3 separate regions of the Homo sapiens genome follow, and regions 2 and 3 are each linked to region 1. Evidence: promoter capture Hi-C in 16 types of primary human blood cells and fetal thymus (Javierre and others, 2016). All regions are on one chromosome and are shown on one strand. Each heading gives the region's core, a stretch centred on a gene start or on the middle of the fragment in contact. The rest is flanking DNA. Distances are from core to core; before and after follow the strand shown.

Region 1 (2,721 bases), core at 136-2,635:
GTGGGTGGATCACCTGAGGTCAAGAGTTCGAGACCAGCCTGGCCAACATGGTGAAACCCCGTCTCTACTAAAAATACAAAAATTAGCCGGGCGTGGTGGTGGGCACCTGTAATCCCAGCTACTCAGAAGGTTGAGGCAGGAGAATCGCTTGAACCCGGGAGAAGGAGGTTGCAGTGAGCCGAGATCGCGCCATTGCACTCCAGCCTGGGCGACAAGAGCAAAACTCCCTTTCAAAACAAACAAACAAAAACAATAATCTTGTGAGTGTTTTCATCTAGAATTAAAAGGGAGGGGAAAACCCCAAAAGAGATTTAAGCAAAGAATCTTAGGGTTTAATGCCATTCTGTAGGTTCAGGAAGTCTCTGAGCTTTAAAAAGCCGCTCGCGTGAAAGTAATTAATTATTCCATCACTTCCCGGGGGTGGAGGGGGGTGCGGAAAAGGCGCATGAGCTCAATGCTGTATACTGCAGCCCGATTCCAGCTCTTTCTTGAGGGCAGAAAAAACGCCGAGCGGCGAGCATTTAACAACGGCCGGCTTTTCTTCTCAAGCCCCGCAGCAGCCACGTGGCGCCTGCCCTAGCTCCCGGCTCACCGGCCACTAGCCTGCACCGCTCTTCGGGAGGATTCGAGGCTGGGCCCTCGCCAGCCCGAGTTCCGCGAAGCCCAGAACCTCCAGGGCCGCGGCCACCAGACCGAGGGCTCCGGCCCCGAACCCAAGCGGGGCAGAGCGCCCAGGCGACACGAGGTGCCAGCCTTCCATTCGATGGACGCCTGGCAGGTCCCCGGAAGTTTTCCCCGGGGACAGGTCTTGGCAACAGGTCCGAGGCAAGGCCGGGTGGAGCAGAGCTCCGCAGCGGCTGGTGAATCAGCGCCGCCCAGCGCCGGACCGGCCCTCCCAGCCAATGCCAGACCCGGTGAGGAGCAGCCAGGCTGCTGACCATCAGCCACTTAGGGCTCGCCTGGCCTGGAGAAAGGTGACATCATCGTAGCTGGGAGGTTTCCGAAGGCTTCACCAATGGGAGACCGGCGAGGTGCTTGCCTTCTGCAGCTCTTGGCCAATACTAACAAAGCAAAAGGGGGCCCGGGTTGTTGGTATAGAACCAATGGGAAACAAGGAAGGAGCACGAGGCGGAGTTGCGAATCCTGTCACCAGTTGGAAAGAGGGGGTGGAGCCCGGGCCTTGTCAAGTGTGACCAACCAGCGAGAGGAGCGGACTTTGCGGGGTGGAGCCCTGAAGCCCTCTCCCAATCGCACAAGTGTAGGGGCGGGGCATTCTTTGGGGGGCCCAATGAGGAACGCGGCCGAAGCTGGCCTGTCAAGAGAAGGGGCTGGGGGCGGGGAGATGGTGAGTCGGGGATAAACACTCCGCGGCGGTGGCGGCTGCTGCTCTGCTCCGGGTTCTGTCACTGTGTCGGCGGTGCCCAGCTCACTGGCCCCCTCCCTCTCTTGTCGAGCGTGGTTGCCAGAGAGGCTCCCTCAGCCCTGCTCCGCGGGGTCCACAGCGGGCTCCACAGCGGGCTCCATAGCGGGCTCCACAGCGGTCCGGCGGCGGCAGCGAGCCCGTGGGCAGTGGGGGTTGGTCCCGTGGCTCCGGCCCCCGGTGCAGAATGGCGGCGGCGGTTCGGATGAACATCCAGATGCTGCTGGAGGCGGCCGACTATCTGGAGCGGCGGGAGAGAGGTGCACGGGGACGGGGAGGGGTCCACTCGAAACGAGGCCGGGGGTCCTGTGGGGCCGGCCTCAGGTCCGGGCGCCCAGCCGCTCCGGGGGTGGTTGGAGGCGGGGAGACCGCGAGCGCTCCCAACCCCTCTGGCTCTCCCCACGCGCGGTCCGAAGGGAAGCCGCCGCTGCCCCAAAGCAATGAATGGGGTGGAGAAGGGGCTGCCGCCCGCCGGGGTCCCGAACGCCGCCCCTTCCCCAGCCCTTCACGAGTGGGTGGCCGGGGCCCCCTCCGATAGCCTCCCTGGTTTACCTCACCCGGGCTGGTCCCGGCCGGCCCCCAGGTGGGCCCGGCGCCCCAGTCTCCTGGGCAGAGGAGCAGCGCCTCCCGGTCCCCGGCTCACGGTGCTTGCCCCGCACCTTCGCCTGAGCTGGTTCCACTTAACCCGCACCAACCTGCTGGATGTAGCCAGTGGGAAACCCAGGCTGCGTGAGCCTAGCCACTACTGTGTCTTTCTCAACAATGAGCAGCTGGAATCCTCCTTACACCTGCTCCGAATTGACGATATTCACACAATTTTTTTTTAAATCATTGTTCTCAGAATTCCACCTTACTCCATTTAATTATTTCCACAATATTCTTTTAAAGATAAATAAAGGAAAAAGGAAATACTGTAGAGAGGAGAGAGCATTAAATATTCTGGGCCCATTCATTAACTGGATCCTCCTGTTTTCTAGAAGCTGAACATGGTTATGCCTCCATGTTACCATACAATAACAAGGACAGAGATGCCTTAAAACGGAGGAACAAATCCAAAAAGAATAACAGCAGTAGCAGGTAATTTGGTAAATACTTCTTTCTGTCTTTTAGATTATATTGTAGGTGACACAAACTGCTGAATGTAAGTTTTCTGTTGTGATTATAACCCTATAAAATTACATTGTGGCCGTCATGATTCAGTAATGTACACATGGACTTAAGCCATTGCAGGAAGCTGTTTCTGTTTGGGTTGAGGGAACTGAAAAGAAAAATAGAAATGTTTTACATTTCTTTATGAACTT
Region 2 (2,721 bases), core at 100-2,599, 250 kb after region 1:
CTGGGCAACAAAGAAAGACCCAGTGTCTATAAAAAAAAATTTTTTTTTTGAGATGGAGTCTCACTCTGTTGCCCAGGCTGGAGTGCAATGGCATGATCTCGGCTCACTGCAACCTCTGCCTCCCGGGTTCAAGCAATCCTCCTGCCTCAGCCTCCTGAGTAGCTGTGACTACAGGCGTGCACCACCACGCCTGGCTAATTTTTGTATTTTTAGTAGAGATGGGGTTTCACCATGTTGGCCAGGCTGGTCTCAAACTCCTGACCTCGTGATCCACCCACCTCGGCCACCCAAAGTGCTGGGATTACAGGCGTGAGCCACCGTGCCTGGCCAAAATTTTTTTTTAAATTAGCCAGGCGTGGTGGTATGCACCTGCTGTCCCAGCTACTTGGGAGGCTGAGGTGGGAGGATCAACTGAGTCGAGGAGGTTGAGGCTGCAGTAAGCCATGATCACGCCACTGCACTCCAGCCTGGGCAACAGAGTGAGACCCTCCCTCAAAAAGGAAAAAAAAAGAAAAGAAAAGAGAGGCCAGGCGTGGTGACTCACACCTGTAATCCCAGCACTTTGGGAGGCCGAGGTGGGTGGATTACCTGAGGTCAGGAGTTCGAGACCAGCTTGGCCAACATGGTGAAAACCCATCTCTACTAAAAAAAAAAAAAAAAAAAAAAATTAGCTGGGCATGGTGGTGTGTGCCTGTAATTCCAGCTACTCAGGAAGCTGAGGCAGGAGAATCGCTTGAACCCAGGAGGCAGAGGTTGCAGTGAGCCGAGATCATGCCACTGCACTCTAGCTTGGGCAACAGGGTGAGACTCCACTGAAAAAAAAGAAAAAAGACAATGAAAAAACAAACCAACACAGTAGACCCTTGTCATCCACCAAGTATAACATTTCAAATCCGCAAATTTTAAAAAGACCAACACAGCACAGACTTTCCCCCTTAAAGGGTATGCGAAGTAAGATGGGATGAGAACAATGAGGCCGAGGTGGCTGCCTCCACTTGATTCCCTTTTGCTCGCTATCCCCAGGTTCTTGCTATTTGCATTCATGTCTAAGCAAACTAATGACATGCTCTCTCACCCGATGGTCAGCACCATGAATGCTGAGGGACTACAAGTTAGGACACTGCTTACCCAGCAAGCATCTGTCTTTCTCTCTGAATATGACCTCAAGGCAGGTAAAATACTTGAAAGTACTTAACCAACCTCTTAAAGAACCTTGCGGCCAGGCACAGTGGCTCACACCTGTAATCCCAGCCCTTTGGGAGGATGAGGCAGGTGGATCACCAGGTCAGGAAATTGAGACCATCCTGGCTAACATGGTGAAACTCCATCTCTACTAAAAATACAAAAAATTAGCCGGGCATGGTGGCATGCGCCTGTAGTCCCAGCTACTTGGGAGGCTGAGGCAGGAGAATCGCCTGAACCTGGGAGGCGGAGGTTGCAGTGAGCCAAGATCACGCCACTGCACTCCAGCCTGGGCGACAGAGTGAGACTCTGTCTCAAAAAAAAAAAAAGAAAAGAAACTTGTCAGACATTAGGTCAACAAAAAGAGTTAAGGGGAGGGGGTCAAGTGAGTTCAGTCTTTCTTAAAAATTCTGTCCAGACCAGGTGTGGTGGCTCACACCTGTAATTCCAACACTTTGGGAGGCCTAGGCAGGCGGATCACTTGAGGTCAGAAGTTCGAGACCAGCCTGGCCAACATGGTGAAACCCTGTCTCTATTAAAAATACAAAAATTAGCCAGGAGTGGTGACACATGCCTATAATCCCAGCTACTCAGGAGGCTGAAACACGAGAATTTCTTGAGCCTGGGAGGTGGAGGTTGCAGTGAACTGAGATTGTACCACTGCACTCCAGCCTGTGTGACAGAGCAAGACTGTCTCAAAAAATAAAAAAGAATTAACTTCAAAAAGGTAAAACACACACACTCATAGTCAAGGAGCGAGCTGATGGAAACCTGGACAAAGGTGGTAGTAATGGAGATGGTAAGATGGAATAGAGGGTGGTACAGGAATGGGATGGAAGAGGGAATAGGATGGGATGGAAGAGGACTACAAGTGTTTAGCTTATAGTATTATCAATATTCTGTTTTCTGGGCTGGGCACGGTGGTTCACGCCTGTAATCCCAGCACTTTGGGAGGCCGAGGTAGGTGGATCACCTGAGGTCAGGAGTTCAAGACCAGCCTGGTTAACATGGTGAAACCCCATCTCTACTAAAAATACAAAAAATTGGCCAGGCATGGTGGTGCGTGCCTGTAATCCCAGCTACTTGGGAGGCTGAGGCAGGAGAATTGCTTGAACCTGGGAGGTGGAGATTACAGTGAGCCAAGATCACGCCACTGCACTCCAGCCTGGGCGACAAGTGATTCACCTACCTCAGCCTCCTGAGTAGTTGGGACTACAGGCCTCTGCCACCATGCCCAGCTATAGGATCCTTTTTTTTTTTTTTTGAGATGGAGTCTCACTTAGTCACCCAGGCTGGAGTGCAGTGGTGCAATCTCAGATCACTGTAAGCTCCACCTCCTGGGTTCACGCCATTCTCCTGCCTCAGCCTCCCGAGTAGCTGGGACTACAGGCACCCGCCACCACACCTGGCTAATTTTTTTGTATTTTTAGTAGAGATGGGGTTTCACTGTGTTAGCCAGGATGGTCTCAATCTTCTGACCTCGTGATCCGCCCGCCTCAGCCTCCCAAAGTGCTGGGATTACAGGCATGAGCCACCGCA
Region 3 (2,721 bases), core at 122-2,621, 210 kb after region 1:
GCAGCACGTATGAGAACTTCATTTCTTTTATTGTATTTGTGGTAATATGTACACAACATAAAGCTTATTTTAATCAATTTTTAAGTGTACAGTTTAGTGGCACTAAATAGTCACGTGGTTGTGCACTCACCACCATCATCCATCTCTAGAACTCTTCCATCATCCTAAACTGAAACTCTGTACCCGTGAAACAACTCCCTCATTCCCCTCTACCCAGCTCCTGGCAACCACCATTCTACTTTCTGTCCCTGTGCACTTGGGAGCATCACCTTTCTGGGACATCTGCAACGGTTCTCTGGAGGATTGTCTCCCCTTTTTTAAAAATTTATTTTCTTTTCTTTCTTTCTTTTTTTTTTTTGGTAGAGAAGGGGTTTCACTTCATTGCCCAGGCTGGTGTCCAACTTCTGGGCTCAAGGAATCTGCCTGCCTTGGCTTCCCAAAGTGTTGGGATTACAAGCATGAGCCACTGTGCCCCGCCTGTGGTCTCATTTTGGAGGGCAAGAGGGATAGAGATAGCCATAACCTGGAGAATATTGAGATGTGGACAACAAGGATGACAAAATTTGGTCCTATGAGAAATCATCTGTGAGGAAGAGTGGAGAGAACTGAGCTTGTTCAAGACAGTGAGGTCCTGGGATGATCTCAATTCATGTAAGAAAACCAGGAAGCAAGGAGGTTTCAGTTTATCAACAGATTTAAAAGGCGCAAGCCTTTTGATATAACTAGAGAAGAGAAGACTCAGGTGATCACACAGACTGTCTTCACCCAAGTGAAGGATGATTATGTAGGAAAGTGGATAGAAGATGCTGTCAACAGAAATGTAAACAGAATCATGTTAACAATTTTTCAGTAGGCACTTTTTTTTTTTTTTTTGAGATGGAGTCTTGCTCTGTTGCCCAGGCTGGTGTGCAGTGGTGCGATCTTGGCTCACTGCAGCCTCCTGGGTTCAAGCGATTCTCCTGCCTCAGCCTTCCGGGTGGCTGGGATTACAGGCATGCCATCATGCCCGGCTAATTTTTGTATTTTTAGTAGAGACAGAGTTTCACCTTGTTGGTCAGGATGGTCTCAAAACTCTTGACCTCAGGTGATCTGCCTGCCTCAGCCTCCCAAAGTGCTGAGATTACAGGCGTAAGCCATCACACCTGGCCAATTTTTAAATTAATAATGAGAGGCTGGGCATGGTGGCACACACCTGTGATTCCAGCTACTCAGAAGGCTGAGGTGGGAGGATCGTTTGAGCCCAGGAAGTTGAGGCTGCAGTGAGCTGTGTTCACACTAGTGCACTCCAGCCTGGGTGACAAAGCAAGACCCTGTTGAAAAAAAAATTTTTTAATAATGAGATATCTGACATTCTTTTTTTTACACTTGGTCTCTGAAATCAGGCTGGCTACATGTGAAGTGCTCTATAGCTACCTGCGGTCACTGTATTGGACAGTGCAGGGTTGGAAACTGGACTTAGGAGTCAGGGCTGGGTTCAAGCCCCACATTCCATCCCTTACTAGGCTGGGTAACTAGGCACATTACTTAGCCTCTCCTATTTCTGTTTCTTCATCTACAAAATGAAACTAAAAATAGTACCTACTTTATAGGGTAATTTTGTGGATTAATGGCACATGAAGCATATGGTGCATGTTCAGTAAATGTTGGCGATTATTAGCAGTAAATTTGGTGGTTATTGAATTAGTGACATTGCAGTATCACTGTTAGGGTGACCTCCATTCCCATCAGATGATGTGGCTTGAAGCTATTCCAAACGGGCAAGGTTAAAAAACAATAGGCAAACTGGGAAAACCTATTTGCAACACACATGAAAACAAAATGTTGTTATTCTTGCTATGTAGGAAGTGCTTGCAAATAAATAAGAAAATGAATACCAATGGAAAATTCAAAAGAAACAAACATCTGAAGTGATTTTTTTTAAAGACCCACTTTAAATAAGTTCAACTCTCCTTGGAATCAGACATAAAAATAAACAAAAGACATTTTTTGTTGTTGTTGAGTAACAGATCAACAGCCAGAATTTGGTGGCACCTAATATTGAAGAAGGTGTGGGGAGATACCTTCTCTTTTTAAATAAAGATTTCCTGAAGTTTCCATTGTTATATCTGACCACAGACTATCCAGAGAAACAAGCTGAGTTCTTGCTTCAAGGAGGAACTAGCCAGAGAGCCTTTTCTACCCACTTTTTCCCTTGTCCAGATAAAGCTAAACAGCCAACAAACCCCTCCTAGCAAGTTGACTTTTTTCTTGTCATGTGTGCAGACTCTGCACATTAGCTTTGCTAATAGTCCTTTACCACAGGTGTTGACATTTCACGTGGCTTGAAATAGCCCCCAGCATTGTTCTACATTTGGACAGGGCTGACATACTTAAGCCACAATACCCCCAGAATATTATTAGGCTTCTGGCTACCTCCTTCAGGAATGTTTTATCTGCCAGCAGGATTGGCTACATAATTTTTGGGGCCCAGGGGAAAATGAAAATATGGGCCCCTTTCTCATAAAAGGATGAAAAAAGCCCTTTCATTTTTTCTACAGTCTCTCTCTCAACCTGTCATGATGTTTTTATTTACTATTTATTGTTGTACTCCCTTGGACATGGAGATACTTCAGAGGTCAGTGCAGGCCCTCACAGATGCCCAGGACCATGCCGCAAGACAGCATGCATTTTCCAGTTTGGGAAAGCTTTTTTTTTTTTTGACACGGAGTCTCACACTGTCAC

What was found. Contacts are between HindIII fragments. The CHiCAGO score rates a contact against its expected background, and 5 or more counts as called.
Region 2: a contact is called between a fragment that was not itself captured here and the fragment with the promoter of MXD1 in region 1, in 15 of 17 cell types (non-activated CD4 T cells, naive CD4 T cells, naive CD8 T cells and 12 more). The highest score is 12.5, in non-activated CD4 T cells.
Region 3: a contact is called between a fragment that was not itself captured here and the fragment with the promoter of MXD1 in region 1, in 10 of 17 cell types (monocytes, naive CD4 T cells, neutrophils and 7 more). The highest score is 11.9, in monocytes.

What each region holds. Positions count from the first base shown.
Region 1 is chr2:69,913,724-69,916,444 of GRCh38, forward strand. It overlaps MXD1 (MAX dimerization protein 1), which reads left to right and starts at 1,386. Exons shown (of 6, transcript NM_002357.4): 1 at 1,386-1,680; 2 at 2,398-2,497. The coding sequence starts at 1,608. RefSeq lists enhancers at 550-599, 612-1,217, 700-809, 910-1,109 and a silencer at 1,760-1,989. The HindIII fragment of the contact is 7,248 bases long and covers 1-2,721 here.
Region 2 is chr2:70,165,860-70,168,580 of GRCh38, forward strand. All of the region lies in intron 6 of C2orf42 (chromosome 2 open reading frame 42), which reads right to left. Among named protein-coding and RNA genes, the nearest start is that of C2orf42, 24 kb to the right of the region's middle. The HindIII fragment of the contact is 4,037 bases long and covers 1-2,721 here.
Region 3 is chr2:70,125,950-70,128,670 of GRCh38, forward strand. No RefSeq gene overlaps it. Among named protein-coding and RNA genes, the nearest start is that of LINC01816, 2.0 kb to the left of the region's middle. The HindIII fragment of the contact is 2,621 bases long and covers 62-2,682 here.